3 separate regions of the Homo sapiens genome follow, and regions 1 and 2 are each linked to region 3. The links are contacts of gene promoters, found by promoter capture Hi-C in blood cells and fetal thymus (Javierre and others, 2016). All regions are on one chromosome and are shown on one strand. The core of a region is centred on a gene start or on the middle of the fragment in contact, and the rest is flanking DNA. Distances in the headings are between cores, read along the strand shown.

Region 1 (2,895 bases), core at 336-2,835, 590 kb before region 3:
CCAGCACTTTGTGAGGCTGAGACAGGAGGGTCACTTGAAGCCAGGAGTTTGAGACCAGCCTGAGCAACAAAGTGAGACCCCCCCATTCTCTACAAAAAAATAAAACAAAAATGTACTTTACCCTACATAATCTTCGGAACAAGTAAGAGAGATCCATTGTTGTACCATACTATTATAGTGATATCTTTAGCAAAAACGGAAATGTGGAGTGCAATCAGGCCCCACTCAGCAGTCCTGGGGAGCTGTGCCTTTCTACCTAGGCTGCTTCCACAGGGTTCTCCCTAACAATCGTACACTTCTATTACTATAGTCAATCTACCGCCAAAGCTACACAGAAGAAAAGAGACAAATAACCAGGCTTGTTAAATTGGTAACTAATTTACTCAATTTATATACTCATGCATTAAGTAAAAGCCCACTGAGGACCCAATACATGCAGGGCAAACCCTCCCTTCAGGATCTCAGGAGAAAACTACAAATAGGGAAAAGGACAATACAGAGGAGCGCTGTGGGAGAATGAGGGGTGTAGGAGGCTTTTGCAGGAGTCAATATTTGAACTGAGTCTCAAATAATAAAGAAAAATTATGGTGAACAAATGCTAGAAACATTATTCCAGGCAAAGGAATGAAGCATGAAGACTTGTTGGATTTTTCTGAGGCCTGAAGCTCAGTCAGATGCCTCTTAATGCCATGCTCTCTTTTCTTGACAATATTGTATTTAATAGGCTTTGGCCTAAGGGAAGCTTATCTACTTACTTTCTAGGCCACCAGTTACATTCCTGATCAGTGTCGTCCTATAAACATACAATGTGTGGCCAGGCACGGTGGCTCACACCTGTAATCCCAGTACTTTGGGAGGCCGAGGCAGGCAGATCACCGGAGGTCAGGAGTTCGAGACCAGCCTGACCAACATGGGGAAACCCCGTCTCTACTAAAAATACAAAATTAGCCAGGCGTGGTGGCGCATGCCTATAATCCCAGCTACCTGGGAGGGTGAGGCAAGAGAATCGCTTGGACCTGGGAGGCGGAGGTTGCGGTGAGCAGAGATAGCACCATTGCACTCCAGCCTGGGCAACAAAAGCAAAACTCTGTCTAAAAAAAATATATATATACATATATATACACACATATACATATATATATACACATATATACACACATATACATATATATATACACATATATACACAGACATACACATAAAATGTGAATCACCATGTGTAATTTTAAAATTTTTAGGAGCCACATTAAAAAGTAAAAAGAAATGGGTGCCAGTAAGTCTCTGAAATCTGACATATCATAACTATAGTGTTTCTCAATCCAGACTAGCCACATTTCAAGTGCTCAACCAGACTACATTAAACAGTGTACTTCTAGTGGCAACCATATTGAACAACGTAATTCTAGATCAAGAGTCAGAAAGCTTTTTCCGTAATGGGCAGTATAGTCTGCAACTATGTAACAACTACTCAACTCTACTGTGATAACAGGAGAAAGCACTACAAACACAAAAGAATGAACACGGCCACGTTTGCCAACTTTGTTCTAGATGGCCAAGTTTACTGTAAATCTGGTTGGCAAATAAAACAGACAAGTACACACACATTATTTTTTATAATGTAACACAGCCATGGTGAACACTGCCGGTTGCTTCCCAAATAAGGACATGCATGTCACTGCCTTTGCGAGAAACTGATTTAAAAATGGACCTGAGTATCAGACAGCAAAGAGATGACCCACTCAAGCTTATTGACTGGGAAAAATTTAAAGAGGTCCTTTTTCTAGTGTGTGGTCAGAGTTTAAGAAAAGCAACAAAGGATGGTAATAAGGATGATATGGAATTCTAGGGCTAGTAATAAACATCAGGAAAGCTGTTACCATCCTGAGGCCAGAAAGGGCAAAGCGGGTAAAGGGTTAGTGGAACCCAGAGAGAACTCTTTAGAGAGAAATATTAGAAAGGAGCAATGGTTACCTACCAGGGAGAGAACCTTAGTTATAAATACACCCACCTTACTCTCTGCTCTTAGATCTCCTGAAGTTCTCCCACTGGCCAAGCCTACCAGAAACACACAGGGCACTGGAGACTATTGTTGCAGTTCTTAACGTCAGTCTCCCAGGAAACAAAGTAGCGTAGAAAAGACTGGAGAGGCAAAAGGTAGATAGCCAGCATAACTTGTAATCTAACTCTGGCCAATGAGACACGAGAAGTCTGTAGGGGAATTTCTAGCGAAGGTTTCATCGCTAAAGAGAAAGACAGGGAAAGAGACAGTTTCTCTTCTGATAGAAGTCATCATTTTGGTTTTCCAGTTTTCTTAACCAGCACGGACTTACTAACCCTCTGTCATTATTTCTATCTGTCCCTTATCACCACCACCAATTTCCTGGACCCACCATGCCACACGCCGACTCCAGAAATTACCCGCTATCTGCCTTCTGATTCCAAATTGCCATGCGCTACAGAAAAAGTTAGGAAAATAGGCCCATTCTAAACTGCTGCAGTCAAGCCTTAGGCAGGCCAGCAATGAAAATATGCAATCTTTGTCTCTGCCTCTTGATGAATTTCTGTGACATTCCTCACAAAAGTAGTTGGAAACCTTTTCCACTTTCAAGTCCCAGCCCCACCAAGTAACTTTTAGTTGTTCAGTTTTGGTACCAAATCCTTAAATGTCTTCTATGTTTCTTAATTTTTGCTGTCTTTCAACCTCTTCTCCAACATTTCTGTGTCAGAGGAAAGAGTAGCCCATCTCTTTTTCAAGACTAACCCTTCAAACTATTATTGTCTTAATCATTCCCTATTCAAAAAGTTCAACCCACTGAGTCAATTATATTGTCCACATTTAAATTCAGAGACAATTTGTTCTTTAAAAATCATGTTTCAGAAATTATGATATGGATG
Region 2 (2,889 bases), core at 12-2,511, 560 kb before region 3:
CTAGAGTGTGGGTCAACCTCAAAGACAACAGGGGTCAGACACATTCCTCCTCTCAGTGATCCATTCATCCATCCATCTTTCTTTCTTTCTTTCTTTCTTTCTTTCTTTCTTTCTTTCTTTCTTTCTTTCTAGACAGAGTTTTGCTCTTTTTGCTGAGGCTGGAGTGCAATGGCGTGATCTTGGCTCACTGCAACCTCCGCCTCCCAGGTTCAAGTGATTCTCCTGCCTCAACCTCCTGAGTAGCTGGGATTACAGGCATGTGCCACCATGCCTGGCTAATTTTTTAGACTTTTAGTGGAGACAGGGTTTCACCATGTTGGCCAGGCTGGTCTCGAACTCCTGACCTCAGGTGATCAACCTGCCTTGGCCTCAAAAAGTTCTGGTATTACAGGTGTGAGCTATGGCTCCCAGCTGATCCAGTCATCATCTTTCAAGCTATATCATCACTTGTTTTTCTGCAAGCAGAAGTCTTTATATACAAGGGAGAGAGTAATCTATGCTGGTTAAGAGAATCCATCCTGCCTACATGGATTTTCTCTAGCTCTAAATAGCAAAGTACATTCTAGGCACCACCAGAAGTGTAATGATAGTTCAAAGATGTACACATATAAGGAAACAGCATCAAGAGTTTCTCAAGCACCACTGGTGAATGGATACTACCATCTGACTGTCCCATGTAGGAATGGAATAACTGCCACACAGCTGTGCTTGCCAATGACGCAGTTCATCTTTTCTGACATTACTACCAGAATTTATTCCTTTCTCCAAAGGAAGGGGCTAATTTTCTTTATTAGCCTAATATGTATTGTTTTTATTTCCATGAGGAAGACAGATTTATTCCTTATTAGATAAATAACACAAGCTTGGCCAGACACGGTGGCTCACGCCTGTAATCTCAGTGCTTTGGGAGGCTAGGTTGGGTGGTTCACTTGAGGCCAGGAGTTTGATACCAGCCTGGCCAACATGGCAAAATCCCATCTCTACTAAAAATACAAAAATTAGCCGGGCGTGGTGGTGCATGCCTGTAATCCCAGCTACTTGGGAGGCTGAGGCATGAGAATCACTTGAACCCGGGAGGCAGAGGTTTCAATGAGTCAACATTATGCCACTGCACTTAAGCCTGGGCAACAGAGCAAGACTCTGTCTCAAAAAACAAACAAATAAACGAAACCACAAGCTTGCTGAAAAATTCAAAAAACATATACGATTATTAAGGAAGAAAATAAAAATCACTCAAAATTGAAATAATCACCTTTAACACTTTAACATGTTGGTGTCCACTCTTTCATAGAATTCTTTATGAATATAAACACATTCAAATATTGAATTTTTTCACTGAAGCTTTTGCATTTGTGAATTTTTCTTAATACACTGTTTTTAGACAGATTCACACTCTGTCGCCCAGGCTGGAATGCAGTGGCATGATCTTGGCTTACTGCAACACCTCTGCCTCCCGGGTTCAAGCAATTCTCCTGCCTCAGCCTCCTGAATAGCTGGGATTACAGGCATCTGCCACCTCACCCGGCCAATTTTTGTATTTTTAGTAGAGACAGGGTTTCACTATGTTGGCCAGGCTGGTCTCAAACTCCTGACCTCAGGTAATCTGCCCGCCTTGGACTCCCAAAGTGCTGGGGTTACAGGCATGAGCCACCACGCATGCCAGGCCTACATACTTTATTTTTTAAAGTATGTTTGTTTTTATTTTGTTTTTTGAGACAGAGTGTTGCTCTGTCGCCCAGGCTGGAGTGCAGTGGCGCGATCTTGGCTCACTGCAAGCTCCGCCTCCTGGGTTCACACCATTCTCCTGCCTCAGCCTCCTGAGTAGCTGGGACTACAGGCGCCTGCCACCACGCCCGGCTAATTTTTTTTGTATTTTTAGTAGAGACGGGGTCTCACTGTGTTAGCCAGGATGGTTTCGATCTCCTGACCTCTCAATCTCAAGTGAACCTCCCAACCTAGCCTCCCAAAGCGCTGGGATTACAGGCATGAGCCACCGCGCCTGACCCAGGTTTGTTTGTGTGTGTGTGTGTGTGTGTGTGTGTGTGTGTGTGTGTGTGTGAAGGAGTCTGGCTCTGTTGCCCAGACTGGAGTGCAGTGGCACGATCTTGGGTCACTGCAACCACTCCCTCCCGGGTTCAAGTGATTCTCCTGCCTCAGTCTCCCAAGTAGCTGGGATTACAGGTGTGTGCCACCACACACGGCTAATTTTTTGTATTTTTAGCAGAGACAGGGTTTCACCATCTTGGCCAAGCTGGTCTTGAACTCCTGAACTCAAGTGATCTCCCCACCTCAGCCTCCCAAAGTGTTGGGATTACAGGATTGAGTCACCCCCCACGGCTTAGAGCAGCTTTAGATTCATGGGAAAGTTAAGCAGAATGTATACGTACCACCTACCCCCATAAGTGTACATATAGCCTCCCCCATTGTCAAAATCCCCCACCTGACTGGTACATTTGTTCCAATTGGTGAACCTGTGTGGACACAGCATTATCACCCAATGTTCATAGTTTACATTACAGTTCACTCTTGGTATTGATATTATTTTTTAAGGGCTTTATTGGTGACCTATAGCTCATCTAGAAGTAATTAATTTATTACCCGGTAACAAAATAGAACTTGATTTTGTTTAGCCCAAGTGTATTCCTCTTTCTGAGTTCACAAAATATGCCTGAGTCAATTTTCTGTATTTAGTAAACTTTTGCTATAATTTTATGTACTTTAATTACATTCCTTTTAAACCTTCACTCTTTGAATATTGAAAATTCCCAGTCTTTCTGGACTATCATACTATAGCTTCTCTTTTAGCCTCCGCGACTAATACCTTGCTTGAACATCTTCATATCTTTAGGCAATTATGTTTTCCTTAAGGTTTAGATGATTTGATGCACC
Region 3 (2,866 bases), core at 228-2,727:
CAAGTCAACTCATGAACACTGGTAAGAAAAGGCTCTCTATAGCAACTAAAGTGTTGGGGAAAAAAAATCCAGGGAGCATAAACGATAAAGCTCAATTAACTGCTGCTTGTGTGATTCCACTTTATGGTCTTAAATACACAGTAGGCATTAGATATTTCTTTTGGGGTTTTTTTTTTTTAACAGAAATTTAGTATTTCAATTGCCCCTCCTCCACAGCTAACATCAGTGCCCTTTCTTCCTCCTCCCTTACCCCTCCCAACTCAAACAAATTAACATTTGTACTAGGTACCTCCTATCAGCTCGCAGCTTCTTCCCAAACACGCCCACGTACACTGAAACTGGCTTGCGTCTACACAACACACAGCTACAGGAAAAGAGCTTCGAGGGGGGAGCTGGGGCGGGGGGTTAATAATTCGCTCCGCACAGGTTTACGGCTATTTTCCAGAAACTAGTTCCTCGCTCGTGGCTCGCGTTTCTTCCAAATCACCTCAAAAGCACGGTGTTTATGAGCCTACCTAATCCGATACTGCAATGGAATTCCGGATATTTGCAGACAGATCTCCCGGCTTTGCAAGTGTTTGATGAGATACGTTCGGAATCTCCTTTTTTTTCTAGAGCCCGGTTCCAGGCCGTAGAGCAAGCCGACCTGGGGCTGCGGCCCCTGCCCCACACCCGGCCCGCGCGCCCGGCCCGAGGCCAGCACAGGACGCAGCCCCTCCGGGGCCGGGGCTGGCGGGGGCCGCTCGGGCTGCGGGCCGCTCTGCAACAGGTCACCCTGACCGCGACTCCGCGGGTTCGCGGGCGGCCAACTCTGCGGCCAGGCTTCTGGGCGCAGCCGCCAGGGCCAGGGGAGGGGGTGTGGCCCGGCTTCTGCTGGTCCTGGCTCCGAGGTCCGGGATCGGGCTCACCTGAAGGAAGACTGAGGCGCCGCTGGGCGCCAGAACAGAGCGGGCGGAGGCTGGGGGCTTCCGCCACCCAAGAGGGAGAGCGAGGCGGGTTCAAGGGGTCGCAGCGCCCCCGGCTTCAGGACGGCGCCCCCGAGCGGGGACCCCACGGCCGCTCCGACTCTGAGAACCCGCGGCCGAGGGAGGCGCGCCGCCCAGCGCCCTTCTCCCTCAGCCTCAGCCCCAGCTCCGCAGCCCCCTCCCTGCGCGCAGGGCGAGCAGCCCCGGGGCCCGCGGCCGGGAGAGCCACACTCCGCAGCGCCGCCGCCGCCATTCCCCGCGCCGCCCGGGGGGCGCCGCGTACCCACCCTCCCTCCCTCCCTCCCCCGCACCGCCCCGCGGCCTGAGCCCACCGACCTGTGCAGCCGCGGCCGTCGCCTCAGAGGACGGAAAGACGATGCCGGCCTCACGCTTCACCGCCACGGCCGCCGCCGCCTAGAGTAGCACTCGTCGACCCGAACAGTCACCGTCTCTCATTCAGCGCCCGCAGCAGCCGCCGCCGCCGCCGCCGCTGCCGCTCGGGGGAGGAGAGTGAGCTGGAACCACCCCGTCCGCGCCAGGGGTGGGGGACGAGAGCGGACCTGGCGGGGGCGCGCGCCAAGCGGGCGGGGCGGAGCCGCGCGCGCGCGCGCACCAACGGAGCGCGCTCGCGGGGGCTCTGAGAGCTGCAGCCGTCAGGGTCTTAACCTCGCGCTTCCCGCCCGCAGCTTTTCGGCCCCGCGGAGCCCAACTGCCGCCGGTGATCGGTGCCCGCAGCGCGCGCAGCCATCCGCAACCCCACCGCCCGGCGCCTGCTGAAAGGAGGGGCTCCCACCGGCCAAACAACGGGGGGGGGAAGGGGTAGGAGGATGGACAGGTGGGGCGTCCGCCACCGCCTGGCCACCCGCTCCCGGAACGCGGCCCTCTGTGAAATCCGCCGTGATGTCTGTGGCCTTCAGCGCCGGGCTCTTCACCTTTAAGGCCAGAGAACAAAGTCTGGAAGCACTTGGCCCCAAGATCAAATATCCAGCCCACGCCAGCGGTGTTTTTAGAAGTCACTGAGGACAAATGAGGGGGCTCCCAATGTGGAGAGTCACCCCACTGTCTTAGATAAGGTCATAAATTATGGTGATCAACATCCTCACACATTAAGATTCGGGAAGTGTTAGAAGTAGGCCTTTGTAAGATGTTACGCAGGGTACTACCCTTGACTTAAGGAGCAAATGACAGAAATTGGGCGGAAAGGTGTTGTTTCAGAGTCTACTAAATGGGTGGCCTACTTAAAGCTAGCACCATTTGATGCAGTGTGACTGTTAACGGAAGGTTTTAAGTGAGCCGCCTTTGTATCTGCTGTCATTAGACCATTTGGAAATGGATAATTATTTGATGATCTGCAGTTCTTTCTCTAGGCAATGTGCAGTAGAATGTGGAAAGAATACTATGTACCAGCATTAAGTGTAAAACATGAAAGGACCAATAATTCACTATTCCCATTTGGTTTCTTTCTTCCCTTTAATAACCGCTAAACAGAACTGATTAATCTTGAACGTTGAAGATTGCTAATTATTTCCTCCTTTGATTGCCTTCTGTCATAGCCCTTTTACTCTAGTTGGGGACGCTAGAATGCCCTTCAACCTCCTTCTCTCAAATAGGGTTACTTTAAAGCACCCCAACGCAAAGTTAAGTCAAAAAGAAAAACAGCGAGGATAGGCAACAAAGTTCGTAGTGTTTCATTTTTATTCCATTTTACTTTCAAAGAAAGTCTTGAATCATGACGAAATCACTAGAAGAAGTAGAGCAATCAAAAGAAGAAAAAAAGCGTTCCCCCCCACCCAATATTTCAAATGACAAGAGTCCAAAAAAGAAAAGAAAAAGGAAGATGATTGGTAAAAAGGAGGGAAGTGCATTATGTATACAGAAAGTTTTCGCATAGATGTTAGTTG

What was found. The method cuts DNA at HindIII sites, captures the fragments that hold promoters and counts their contacts. A CHiCAGO score of 5 or more calls a contact.
Region 1: a fragment that was not itself captured here is called in contact with the fragment with the promoter of RALGPS2 in region 3 in 1 of 17 cell types (total CD8 T cells); the score reaches 5.0 in total CD8 T cells.
Region 2: a contact is called between a fragment that was not itself captured here and the fragment with the promoter of RALGPS2 in region 3, in 2 of 17 cell types (non-activated CD4 T cells and naive CD4 T cells). The highest score is 6.2, in non-activated CD4 T cells.

The regions. Positions count from the first base shown.
Region 1 is chr1:179,311,801-179,314,695 of GRCh38, reverse strand. All of the region lies in intron 2 of SOAT1 (sterol O-acyltransferase 1), which reads right to left. Among named protein-coding and RNA genes, the nearest start is that of SOAT1, 19 kb to the right of the region's middle. The HindIII fragment of the contact is 322 bases long and covers 1,425-1,746 here.
Region 2 is chr1:179,284,569-179,287,457 of GRCh38, reverse strand. No RefSeq gene overlaps it. Among named protein-coding and RNA genes, the nearest start is that of SOAT1, 7.8 kb to the left of the region's middle. The HindIII fragment of the contact is 164 bases long and covers 1,180-1,343 here.
Region 3 is chr1:178,723,855-178,726,720 of GRCh38, reverse strand. It overlaps RALGPS2 (Ral GEF with PH domain and SH3 binding motif 2), which reads right to left and starts at 1,477. Exons shown (of 20, transcript NM_152663.5): 1 at 1,302-1,477. It overlaps RALGPS2-AS1 (RALGPS2 antisense RNA 1), which reads left to right and starts at 437. Exons shown (of 1, transcript NR_187252.1): 1 at 437-2,866. RefSeq lists silencers at 668-897, 1,098-1,217, 1,478-1,647, 1,549-1,703 and an enhancer at 538-1,127. The HindIII fragment of the contact is 4,509 bases long and covers 1-2,866 here.